2 separate regions of the Homo sapiens genome follow, and region 1 is linked to region 2. Evidence: promoter capture Hi-C in human tissues and cell types (Jung and others, 2019). All regions are on one chromosome and are shown on one strand. The core of a region is centred on a gene start or on the middle of the fragment in contact, and the rest is flanking DNA. Distances in the headings are between cores, read along the strand shown. Region 1 overlaps RERE (arginine-glutamic acid dipeptide repeats). Region 2 holds the start of SLC45A1 (solute carrier family 45 member 1).

Region 1 (5,905 bases), core at 2,169-4,668, 47 kb before region 2:
TCATTCAGTAGCCCCTAAAATGACTTGGACTGAGGAAGTAGAAGGAACCACTGTGAGTTTTTTCTCATTCTTCTTTCAAGCTCTGGAATTTGAGCTGTGACTTATCACAGCACCAGTTGCCCTTTTGAGCTCATGAAGCATGACCTTGGACAGAGCATTTGGAGTGTGACTGCTCCCTGCCTTGATTTCTCTTCCATATTTTCTCAGAGGAAAACCAGACACAAGTCAGCGTTTATGTCAGCAGTGATCTTGTAACCCCCTAGTGGGATTTACGAATCTTTTCCGTCTAGCCAACACCCAAGGATCAGTATAGATAAATGCATTTCCAAGTCTGGAAAGCAGGAAGTGAAAAGAGCTAGGAGGTTCACAGATCATGACCTTAGGGGCCAGGATGCTCATGCCCGCTGGGACAGTTGTAGCTCGCATTCCTAGACTAGCATGGGGGAGAGGAGCCAGTCAGAAATTCCAATGGCAGTATCTGCATTTCTCCTTATCATTCAGTTACCATCTCATGGAACCGAGGGGTGGGCACATGCACATACGTGTAGGGACATGAGTGTGCTTGTCCCGAGATGGCTCCCTGGCCCTGCTGGCCTGGGGTTATGCTTCATCTGCTAGGTATTGGTGATCAGGAGTAATTTGTTAAGTGTTAAGTGCTTGGGGAGGTTGAGACACGTCCAGTGCTCCAGGAGATACATGTGATGGGCTTTATAGGCCAGTCAGCCCTCCTTCAAGGCATTCCAGCCCTCCTTTAGGGACCGCAGCCGTGGTCCCACTTCTTACAAAAATGCCCAGGCATAAGATGCAGCTGTGGGCAGTCAAGTACTCAAGGCACGGCATCCCCTGCCTTGCGGAAGCCACCCCACCACCTAAAATCTGCCCACCTCTCTTGTCACTGTGTTCTGAGGCCATTTCCTCTGGGGGTGTTTTGGATGAAATCTGGTCTGATGGGTGAGTTTGTCATGTGGCAGCTACATGTCTTTGTTTGGTTTGTCTATTTTAGTCCTTCCAACACTAGTCTTTCCATCCCCCTCTCTCACTTTCCCCTCTCTCTTTTTGCCTCCTCCATTCACAAGACAGTGTTTGATGAGACAAAGTGAGGGTGCAGGTACCTCCAAGACAACTCCCAGCATCTAGTCGCCAAGCTAATAGACTTTCTACAGTGTTGATTTAATTAGAGGGAAACCAAGTGATCTGTGCTCTCTCACTTGGCTGTGTTTGTTTTTTGGGTTTTTTTTTTTTGTTTTTTTTTTTTGTTTTTTTTTTTCAGTTCTAGGTAAAGAGACTTTATCTTGGGATGTTTAAGAAATCGTCTTTTGTGTGTAGGGTGAGATGGCAGCCTGCAGCGCCCTGAGGGCTGGGGGTGCCCAAAGTGCCCTTTCTTTAAAAAGCTTACATTTGCTATATTTCCAAAAAGGTATCTTGCTTTTGTTTCTGCTGGGCCATGAAAAGAAGCCTGACCTTGTGGTGTGTGATATTTCACCTTTGCATCAGCACCACTGTGTGTCTGTCCTCTTGTAGTCTTTCTTTGCCAAGCCCAGTCCTTGCCTCTGGACGTCGTGCCGGCATGTCAGATGTGGGCCTTCAGATGGAGCCAGGTGGAGGCTGTGGAGCAGTTTCCTGAGCATGCGGTCTCTGTTCTTCCCCACCTTCTGTTTGGCCCTGGTTCCTCACCACCTGGGCAGTTTGCTTTGGTTGGTTGGTTGTTTCTGGGGGAGTCTAACTGGCCGGGCATTTCCTTCTCACACCTGTGTGATTTCACTGGCATTACTGTAAAGAAAGCATCGTTGTGTTCACACACATGCACAGACTCACGTGCACACACAGCTAGAATGTAAGCTCCTCGTGGGCAGGAATCTTCTCTCCTTTTCGTCCATTGTGGATGATGTGTACCTCCCATGTGTACAACAGCGGTGGGGTCTGACATAGCAGACACCCAACAAGTACTTGTTCTTGGTGTCTGGAAGTCAAGCTGTGCTGGGCTGAGGAGGCGGGCCCCATTCATGCAGTCCACGGGCAGCTCAGTGGCTGTTTCTTGGGCAAGCCCAGTTCCTCTCCCAACTCCAGGAGCGACTGGTCTTTATTCTCATCTCTGGCACAGCTGTTAAACACCCAGCTTTCCACTGTGGCAGAGAGGGTGCGTGGGGCACGGAAAAGCCCCAGGCCCTCCCCCACAGTCAGCCCTTCTCTTCTGCAGGGGGAGCTGATCACCTTCTATTACTATTGGAAGAAGACCCCCGAAGCAGCCAGCTCCCGAGCCCATCGTAGGCACCGCAGGCAGGCCGTGTTCAGGAGGATTAAGACTCGCACCGCGTCCACACCCGTCAACACACCCTCCAGACCCCCGTCCAGTGAATTCTGTGAGTAGGGGTCTTGGCATCACAGTGGGCGGAGGGGAGACTGTTCACGGGCAGCCTGTCCCACTCTGGGCCCGTAGGAGCTGATGGCTCCGGGAAGCATGAGGGGGTGTGCACCCGTGCTCCAGTGCATGTGTGAAGCCTGACCTAAACATAGACCGATGGTGGGGGCGGGGAGCAGGACAAGGATTCAGGAGGGAGACTTTAAAACATTATTTGTACATTTAAATATTTCTCATAAACTCAACATCATCTTAGGTTTTTACAAAAAATACACGTCTTGGCCTGGGATGTTTTTGGCCTTGTCCTGGGAAGGTTTTCCATTTGACAGATGATGTACTTGATGTCCTGCTTGAATTCTCATTGCACTTTTGGTTGTAAGAAGATCAGATTAACACTTTCTTCTTTTTCCTCCTGCTTCACCAAGATCCTCTTTTTGGTCCCAGTATGATGTACAATCTAATGATGCTGGAGCCCACACCTTCTCACCCCTAAAAAACTGGGGTGTAGCAAAAGTGCCTTATAGCTCTGTCCTGGCCCGGGACGCTGAACCTGAGGGGCGCCGGTGTTGCGCATGCAGGCGACTAGAAATCACCTAGCAGGACGGGTTGGGGGCGCTCGGTGAAGTTGGAATTTCTCAGGATTGCCTGGGCGTATTAGGGAGGGAGGCAGCATGGACGCGCTTGTCCCAGTTCAGACTCACCCGTTACGGGCATCAGTGGCAGGGCAGGCCCTTGGGTATGGCGCCTCACACACAGGCCCTCTGTCCTGGTGACTGACACTGAGGAGCTCGAAGTGGTCCTTTGCAGACACTGTCCTACCTCAGCCTGTGCACCCAGCCGCTCTGACTGGTGGCCAGAACCTGCAGTAGGCCAGAGGTCACAGGTGTTCCCCCCTCCCCCCCACCCCACCGGCCCAGCCTTGGCTGAGCATGATGGTGTCTCCCCCACCCCCACTATGTGCCTGCCACGCCCAGTGGACCTAAGTTCAGCCAGTGAAGATGACTTCGACAGTGAGGACAGTGAGCAGGAGCTGAAGGGGTACGCCTGCCGCCACTGCTTCACCACCAGTAAGTGGCCTCGTCACGCTCCTGGGGCGGGGCGGGGGCACAAGCACTTCCATGTTCTGAACATTTCATGCATCCAGCTGGAAACCTGCCAGGGACAGTACTTGATTTGACATTTGCATTGTGCTTCGGGATTCGAGAAAGTTAGAAATGTTTAGTTTACTTTACTCCTCTGCTTGGCAGTCGGTATGGAATACTGACTGGTAGGCAGGACAGATTGAGTGGGATTGGGGGGTTGACACTGTAGTTCCCAGGAGCTTGCTGCCAGCTTTTCCTGGGCACCCCAAGTTGAAGTGGGCAGCAGATGCCCCTGAAACCCTCTCCTGGCCTTGGGGGAGCAGGGCAGCACTAGCCCTGGGGTGTTGGGGCCCAGGGCTGCATGGTGCTGGTGGCATCAGGTTTGGGTAGAGCCCACAGAAGGGCCCCTCTGCCCAGACATCCCCAGGGAGAGGGATGGTTTCCAAGGTTGGCCCCCACCACTTCCCTCACACAGCCTCCAAAGATTGGCACCACGGAGGCCGGGAGAACATCCTGCTTTGCACCGACTGTCGCATCCACTTCAAGAAATACGGTGAGCTCCCGCCCATTGAGAAGCCCGTGGACCCGCCACCGTTTATGTTCAAACCCGTCAAGGAAGAGGATGATGGGCTCAGTGGGAAGCATAGCATGAGGACACGGCGGAGTCGGGGCTCGGTGAGTCCCCTGGGGCCATGGGGCTCCTGGCAACTTCTTCAGTTTCCTGGGATGTGTGGGGGCTTGAGCCTCCCAGGGGGAGGAAGCGAAAGTCTTGTTTACCAGACAAAGTCCTGGAGGGGAGCTGCTTTGCCCGAGGCGGTAGCTTGCCTGTGGGCTGGGAAGAGTTCTCTGTTCTCTCCTTCGAGGGGCCCCAGGGTGGCATCCTGCTCTGGGTTTTGTAGCAAGCTCTTAGCTTCTGGCTCAGTGCAGGCTCTCCAAGGCCCCTCTTGCTCTCCAAGGCTGCTGCTTGTGGTGTCACTTCCATTGTATCAAATCTCTGCTATTTTAAACTTGCAGGCTCTTTTGTGTTAGTGTGTTTGTGATTTTTTTTAAATGTTTGATCCCGTTTTGGAAACTTCCGATACATTTTTCTGCTCACTGCATAGCTCCTCCCATAAAGAGACTTTGTTTCCTAGGTTGGAAATGTGCCAGGGACTTTGGGAGAGGCTTTTTCCAGGTTTGGGGCTGAGGGTACTGACAGGGTCTTTCCCTTCAGCCTCCCTTATGGCCCCTTCTGGCAGGTGGGTGGGACCATCCACTTTCCTCTGCCCCTTGTATGCCGTTGAGGCTGCTGGCAGCCCGGCCCCCGCTCACTCAGAAGGGAGCAGGTCAACCAGCCAGAACCATTGTCTCCTGATCTCTTCTGAGCCCTCATGGCTTTGCAGAAACATGCTGAAGCGCTTGGCGGCTTGGGGAGCTGAGCTGCTTTACTTGACAGCTTCATCTCTTTGGGTCACTTCCTGTCCTGTCAGATTAAATCCACAAGTGTTTGATTTCATTTGGTTTGGTTGGGAGAATGGACGGTTATGAGGAATAAACAGAAAGGGTGTAGGGTGCTTTAAAGATGGCCCCAGGCGACTTTCTGCCGCTCAGAAAGTGTGGTTCATTTCCAGCACACGTTGTTCAGGACAGTCCCTTGGGATGAGTGCTTTAGGTTTGAGAACCGCCCTCTGGCGTGAGCCCACTGATTTCCCCACCTCTTCCCTGAGCTCCACACCGACCTTCATGCAGCCAGGGACAGGCAGGGCGGCCTGTTGTTTGCCAAGGTCTGGGATTTGCTGAGAGGCTGATAGGGTGTGCCTTCAGGCTTCTGCCTGTGGGTTGGGCTCAGGTGGGTCCACATGGGGACTGGGAATCTGGTGTCACCAGTCTTCGGTTTGGGTGGGCAGATGTCGACACTACGCAGTGGTCGGAAGAAGCAGCCAGCCAGCCCTGATGGTCGCACCTCACCCATCAATGAAGACATCCGCTCCAGCGGCCGGAACTCCCCCAGCGCTGCCAGTACCTCCAGCAATGACAGTAAAGCAGAGACAGTGAAGAAGTCGGCCAAGGTCAGGTGCTGGGGGGATAGTAGGGCCTACTCTGTCCCTCCCTCACATTAAAACTGGTTTGCTGGTATTCGTGATCAGCTCCCTCAGACACGAGGATGCAGCTCATTCATGGAGCCTGTCTGGACACCAGCATTGTCCTGGCCTAGGGGCTGCAGACCGAAGGCTGGGGGCCTAGAGAAGGGGGCTCGAGCACCAACTCTTGGGGGCCACCTCTGCCTCAAGCTTCCCAAGTTCTCAGAAAGTGTGGGGAGTGGTTAGAACGGCTCCCTCCAGAGCCAAGTACAGTCCTCCCTTGGTATCCATTAGAGATTGGCTCCAGAGCCTCCACCGCCCAGGATACCAAAATCCACAGGTGCTCAAATCTCATATACATCGACACATGGTTTGCATGTGACCAGTCACATCCTCCTGTAGAC
Region 2 (6,442 bases), core at 1,561-4,060:
CATCTCCCTTTCTGTCCCTCTGCCCAGCCTCTCCCCACCTGCAGGCACACAGGCATATCTCCCACTCTTTCTAATCAGCATTTTAACCATAATGTGAACTTAAGTGCATTAGAAACCTTCCCTTTAAATTTGGAATGAAGAACTGTGGCCCAGTTTGGAAAAACTTCAGCTTTAAACAGCATATGGCAGGTGTGTGTGTGTGTGTGTGTGTGTGTGTGTGTGTGTGTGTGTAGAGAGAGAGAGAAACAGAGAGAGAGAGAGAGAGACAGACAGACAGACAGACAGACAGAGTCTCCCTCTATCTAGCCCAGGCTGGAGTGCAGTCATCATCGCTCAGTGCAGCCTCAACCTCCCTGGGCTCAGGTGATCCTCTCACCTCAGCCTCCCAAATAGCTGGAACTACAGGTGCACACCACCACACCAGGCTAATTCTTGTATTTTTTTGTAGAGATGGGGTTTCGCCATGTTGCCCAGGCTGGCCTCAAACTCCTGGGCTCAAGTGATCCACCTGCCTTGGCTTCCCAAAGTGTTGGAATTACAGGCATGAGCCACCATTCCCAGCCCCTGAAGTGTCTTTTTGAAAAGAGGAGCCTCTTTGACCTTATTTAAAGTGGACTATGTAGACGGCCCACTTCTCTACCTGCAAGAGGACAACTCTACTGCCACCTCCGCCACACCCCACTGCAGCCTGTCCTAGCAGAAGGGAGATCCTCACACACTCAATGAACTTCTCTCTAGCATCTGAACCAGAATTAAACCTAGCTTAATCCTGGCTCAGAAGAAGTCTTTACTAAGGATTCATCTTCAAATCTGGGGATCAGCATTACCATTTTTATTAAAACTACATTTAGTAAAAACTGTTCACAAATGTTTATCATAAGAAGAATTTTAGAAACTCATTTTTGAGACCGGGCACAGTGGCTGACGCCTGTAATGCCAGCACTTTGGGAGGCCGAGGTGGGTGGATCACCTGAGCTCAGGAGTTCGAGACCAGCCTGGCCAACATGGAGAAACCCCGTCTCTACTAAAAATACAAAAAATTAGCTGGGCATGGTGGCGAGTGCCTGTAATCCCAGCTACTCCGGAGGCTGAGGCAGGAGAATCGCTTGAACCCAGGAGGTGGAGGTTGTAGCGAGCTGAGATCGCACCACTGCACTCCAGCCTGGGCAACAGAGTGAGACTCTTGTCTCAAAAAACAACAACAACAACAACAAAAATCCATTTTTAAGGTTCCCATAAAAATGGGTGAAAGTGGAATTTAAGATCATAAAATCTAATTTTCATGCACAAATACAAACATTCGCCAGACCATCTTTACTGTACCATATGACCATTTACTCGGTCAAAAGGAAATCCACTCATCTCCCTGGATCCCCCGAAGGCTATGCAAGGGGTCCACTGTGCTTCCAGAGTACAGAGGATGCTTAAAGTAACAGATTCCTCAAACTGTGTTGTGGGAAGTTTAAGCGGCAAATGATTAATAAAAGTAATCAATGTCAATGTAGTTTGAATGCTTACAATGATCCTACTACGAGCGGAAACCATTTCCTCATTTCTTTCTTCTCGTTATGAAAATGAGCTCCCCCCACGGGGTTGCCTTGGGCCACCTCCCTTCCTAGGGCGTATTTGCTTATTTGTTTATTTGAGACGGAGTCTCACTCTATCGCCCAGACTAGAGTGCAGTGGCATGATCTGGGTTCACTGCAACCTCCGCCTCCTGGGTTCAAGCGATTCTCCTGCCTCAGCTTCCCAAGTAGCTGGGATTACAGGCATGTGCCACCACGCCCGGCTAATTTTGTATTTTTAGTAGAGATGGGGTTTCACCATGTTGGCCAGGCTGGTCTTGAACTCCTGACCTCAGGTGATCCACCCGACTCAGCCTCCCAAAGTGCTGGGATTACAGGCATGAGCCACCGCGCCCGACCCCTCATGCTTCTTTCTACCCATTCTCAAAATTCTTCAGTGAGGTCCTCCAGGACCAGGAAGGTGCTCTACGGACTTGGGAGGGTGCACTTAATAGGCTAGTTACTGAATCGTGGCCGTTTCCCACTTTGCATCTCCGGCAGCTTGACCCCTACTCCAGGGCCAACTTTTCCCAAAAGCCCAGGCCAGGTGCAGCCTGAACGTGGCTTTCCTCCGCCCCTGACTCTGCTTCCCTGTAAGAGCTGAAAAACATGCACGGCTGTCACTCTAGAAATAATTAGAGAAGTTGCTGATTGTCGAGGGCAGAAGGAGCTGAACGGCTTCCACCTCAGCGCGTTCCCCTTGGTGCTGACTCGCTCGGGAAAGGGGAGTCCTCGGTGCCCTCGCTAAGTAACCCTGGGATGCTGAGGGGCGTTGCCAGGCCCCTGGTCAACAAGAGGGCTCAGCCCCACGCAAGAGGTGAGCCGGGAGCGGATGACACCTGCCCAGGTGACTAGGGACCAGGCCTCCGGCTCAAGGAGCGCATCAGGAGCTGGGGCCAAGGCCGGGGTCTCCTCCCCTTGCCAGCAAGGATGAGAGCACCTGCCATCTGGCCGGCACCCTCCCCTGGGCCCGAGGCTCCTGCCCTCGGAGGGGCGAGACGGGGGAGCTCCGTGGACTCTGCAATTCATGAGACTTCCACGAGGAACAAAGGTCTCCGTGCCGGCCTCGGGTCCCGGTCTCGGCGCCCTGACTACCCCGGGGCCCAGGGCGCGGCGCCCCGGCAGGCACGGAGCCAGAGAGCGGGCGGAGGGCGCGGAGGAGACGGTGGTACCTGTGGGTGGAGACGGCAGGCATCCCTGTCCCCGCTGGGCTGCTGCCTGCCCGGCCGCGGTCCCGGCTGCTGCAGCATCACCCGGGGCGGGGCGCTGACGTCACGGCCGCAGCCTCCGCATCCGCGCGGGGCCCGGAGCCTTAAAGCGGCGCCGCGTCTGGGGCCCCGCGGGCGGGAGGGGAGCCCGGTGTCCTCCTGGGCCCTTCCCGCGGGAGGCCCGTCCCGGTGCTTCGCGCACGACGGCGCGGTCTGCAGGATCTGCCAGGATCCCGGAGGAAAACGTCCCCCCGGCCTCACAGTTCTCACCGTTTTCTTCTGATTTTAAAAGAAATAAATACATTTTCGTGTCTTCATGTATAAATAGATACCCATGTGTTCGCGGATACGTGAATGCCGCAGTGCGTGTGCCAAGCCTGTGCCCATGTGCGCAGTGGGGCAGCCGGGCCTGCTGGAGGCGTCGCGACTCTGGGCCCGGAGCTGTCCAAGGCACTGGGGATGCCGCAAGAACAAGGCAAAGTTCCCGCCCCTGGGGGAACTTTGTAATGTAAGTAAATACATAAATACTTTATGTATTTATTATTTACTTCATTTTTTAAAATACAGAGAGGCAGGGCCTTGCTATGTTGCCCAGGCTGGTCTCGACTCCTGGGCTCAAGTGATCCTTCTGCCTCGGCCTCCCAAAGTACAGGTGTGAGCCACCGCACCCGGCTGCATGACATTTAAGAGAGAGACACACACACATTAAACAAGACATAAAATAAATGGTATGTCAGAAGATGGCAATGCCCTAGAGAAGGGGTTAGGGAGTGTGGGGCTGCAGAGGCGCTGGCCTTGCAGGTTTCTATCAGGTTGTTGGCGAGTCCTCACCTGGAAGGTGACACTAGAAGGAGGATTTGCGGAGCAGGCCGGGCACGGTGGCTCACACCTGTAATCCCTGCGCTCTGGGAGGCCGAGAGGGGCAGATCACCTGAGGTCTGGAGTTCGAGACCAGCCTGGCCAACATGGCAAAACCCCCATCTCTACTAAAAATATAAAAATTAGCCACACGTGGTGCTGGGTGCCTGTAATCTCAGCTACTCAGCTGAGGCAGGAGAATCGCTTGAACCTGGGAGGCAGGGGTTGCAGTGAGCTGAGATCGTGCCACTGCACTCCAGCCTGGGCCACAGAGTGAGACTCCATCTCAAAAAGAAAAGAAGGACCTGAGGAGCTAGGGGGGCCAGCCAGACTGACGTGTGGGGAAGGTCACGCCAGGCACTGGGAAGAGCAAGTGCAAAGGCCAGGGGCAGAAGTGAGCTGGGCTGAGTCCAATAATTACGGATGAAATAATTATGCAGCTGGTAGTGGAATAATAACCCCAGGGAAGCGCTGCAGAGTGGGGGCACGGGGCCCTGTGGAAGTTTACCGCGGCGGATTCCACCCCATTGGGAGGGTCGAGGGCTCCTCAAGGAGCCCTACCAGGCCAAGTAGAGAGAACAGCATGTCCCACACAGAGGGCTCAGAGAGCTCTGCACTGGCAGAGCTCCGGAGGGGAGAGGGCCTGGAGGCACACTGCAAAGGAAGTGGAGGGGGACAGGGATGCAGAGGCCTGGGAAGGAGGTGAGGGCTGGGGAGGTGGGACAGGCCCAGGTGTGGCCTCTTAGGCAGTTGCCAGTTTCTAAGAGCAAAGAGAAGCCTAGAAAGGTTTTATGTAGGGGAGTGGATGGCATGAATCCTATTCACAGTTAGCAAAGATCATAAAGCTCAGAGTGAAAACAGATTGGAGGGAACCAGGGGACCACATGGGCGTACCGGGTGGCACAGGTGGGAGAGTTGGGGGTGTTGGTAGAGGGAGAGAGGTGATGGACTGGCCGGGGACTTAGGACTCCATGATTGACTGAAGGTGGGGGGGTACAGGAACAGCGAGGGTGGTGCTAAGAAGTTTCTAGCTTGAGCGATGAGGGAAGAGAGTGGATTCATGGAGGCCAAAGCAGGTGTGTGCTGGAGTGAATGCCATAGGTTTGCTTTGGGATATGCTGAGCTTGAGGGCCTTCGCAGCCTCTAGGCCACCAGACACTTGGGTCTGGAGCTCAAAGATGCTCCTTTATGAGTCCCCTGCACATGGGAGCTAATTGCAGGTGAACTGTGGACCTCGCACTGCCAGGGAGAGGCGCAGGGCAGAGGGCCCCAGAGGACACCATGGGAATTTCAACAGATCCTGCCCAGGCTGAAGAGAAGGAGCCACTGGAGGGGGCTGGTTCTGGCTTCTTTTATCTCTATAACAGGGTAACAGCTTGAAAAAAATACCGATGTCCTTTTCTATTTTGCATGCAAGTGGCCTGCCATCAACTGATGAGCTTCAGCACCTCAGGGACTTAATGCAATAGAAGCTTACTTCCACATGAGGTTGGCAGAAGTGTGCCTGATGGGTGGGGACCTCTGTGAAGCCATTCAGGGATCCCGGTTGCCTCCATCTTGCTCTGCCCTGGTGCACTGAGGGAGGAGCCCAGGTGGTGCCTGCCCACGGGGCCAGGTGTGCAGGAGGCCCACGTTCCACTCGAATCCCATTGGCTAGGACCCTGCCACACAGCCACACCGGCCACACCCAACCCACAACAGGGCTGAGAGATGGGGCCCCTGTCCCCAGGAGAGGAGGAGATGGGGGTGGGGAGTTGCTGGCTTCAACTGCTTCTGTAACTTTTAGCTGCTTGCAGAGGGGAGAGAAGATGGGGAATGCTGAGAAAACTTAAAGATCATCTCGAGGTTCTGATGTTCACAACGGGATTTTGCAACAAGAGAAGAGGTTTGAAATCTAAGCATTGTTGAGAAAGAAAGGGATTTTGAAAATTCCTTTGACCTTTTTTAAACTTCCAAAGTGAGAACCTTCTAAGGCTAGAGCTTTTGCTTTTTAGCCCCTCCAAGTTCAGGGCAGAGAGCAGTGTTTCTCCCTGGGGGCAGACAAGATTTCTCCTGTCTCGACAATAGGTCTAGACTGGGGGCCAGAGTGGAAGGGGCTGACAGAACATGCAGGAAAGACAAGAGACGCTCGCCCTTCCGGTCCTGGGTGTGGGGGAAGGATGGCAGAGGGAGGAGGGAGAGTGAGGGGGAGGAAGGTGCTTGGGGTGCATCCCAGCTCCTTTCTCCCTGCGCCTCAGCCCTGTCGTGGCAGAGTTTGCTCTGGGCAGAGCCCCCGTACACCAACACAGCGGCCGCAGCCCGGCTGGGGGATCAGAACAGTGGGGGCTCTAATTTGCCCTGTGAGGCTCTTGTGGCTCCCATTCAGTGCCTGGATGCAGAGCTGAAGCTGCAATGGCCCCGTGGGGCTGGGACATGACGTGGGGTGGGGGGACCCTCAGCCTCACTGTGGGAAGGACAGTTGGGCCAGGTGGCTGGGTGGGGGGACTTTGGCAGAGAGACCTGGAGGGGTCTACGGGGCCAGCCAGGGCCCCAGGGAAGCAGGAGCCACACCAACTCCACGCCAGGATCTAAGGAAAACAGGGGACTGCTGCAGCCCTGCCACGTACACGGGGACCGGCAGGCAGCCAGGAGGACACAGGAGCCCCATCCACTGCCCCAGCCCAGAAAGGAACAGAGGATGGAGACAGGACATGCACAGTGTGAGCCTAGAGAGACCCAGTCGGACCCAGAATAATAGGCTCCAACAGTGCAGAGGAGAGCTGGTGTGAGGCGGTGGAAGCCTGCTCACCTGCCATCCCTGGGTGTCCACAA

The links. The method cuts DNA at HindIII sites, captures the fragments that hold promoters and counts their contacts. A contact is called where the count stands out against the background at its distance.
Region 1: a contact is called between a fragment that was not itself captured here and the fragment with the promoter of SLC45A1 in region 2, in 2 of the 25 tissues and cell types used here (IMR-90 fibroblasts and aorta).

What each region holds. Positions count from the first base shown.
Region 1 is chr1:8,362,267-8,368,171 of GRCh38, reverse strand. It overlaps RERE (arginine-glutamic acid dipeptide repeats), which reads left to right. Exons shown (of 23, transcript NM_001042681.2): 13 at 2,198-2,360; 14 at 3,334-3,426; 15 at 3,917-4,116; 16 at 5,328-5,489. Among named protein-coding and RNA genes, the nearest start is that of SLC45A1, 47 kb to the right of the region's middle. RefSeq lists enhancers at 215-715, 2,541-3,511 and a silencer at 663-832. The HindIII fragment of the contact is 5,449 bases long and covers 694-5,905 here.
Region 2 is chr1:8,314,482-8,320,923 of GRCh38, reverse strand. SLC45A1 (solute carrier family 45 member 1) reads right to left here and starts at 2,810. Exons shown (of 9, transcript NM_001080397.3): 1 at 2,738-2,810. RefSeq lists silencers at 2,701-2,980, 6,410-6,442. The HindIII fragment of the contact is 6,823 bases long and covers 1-5,810 here.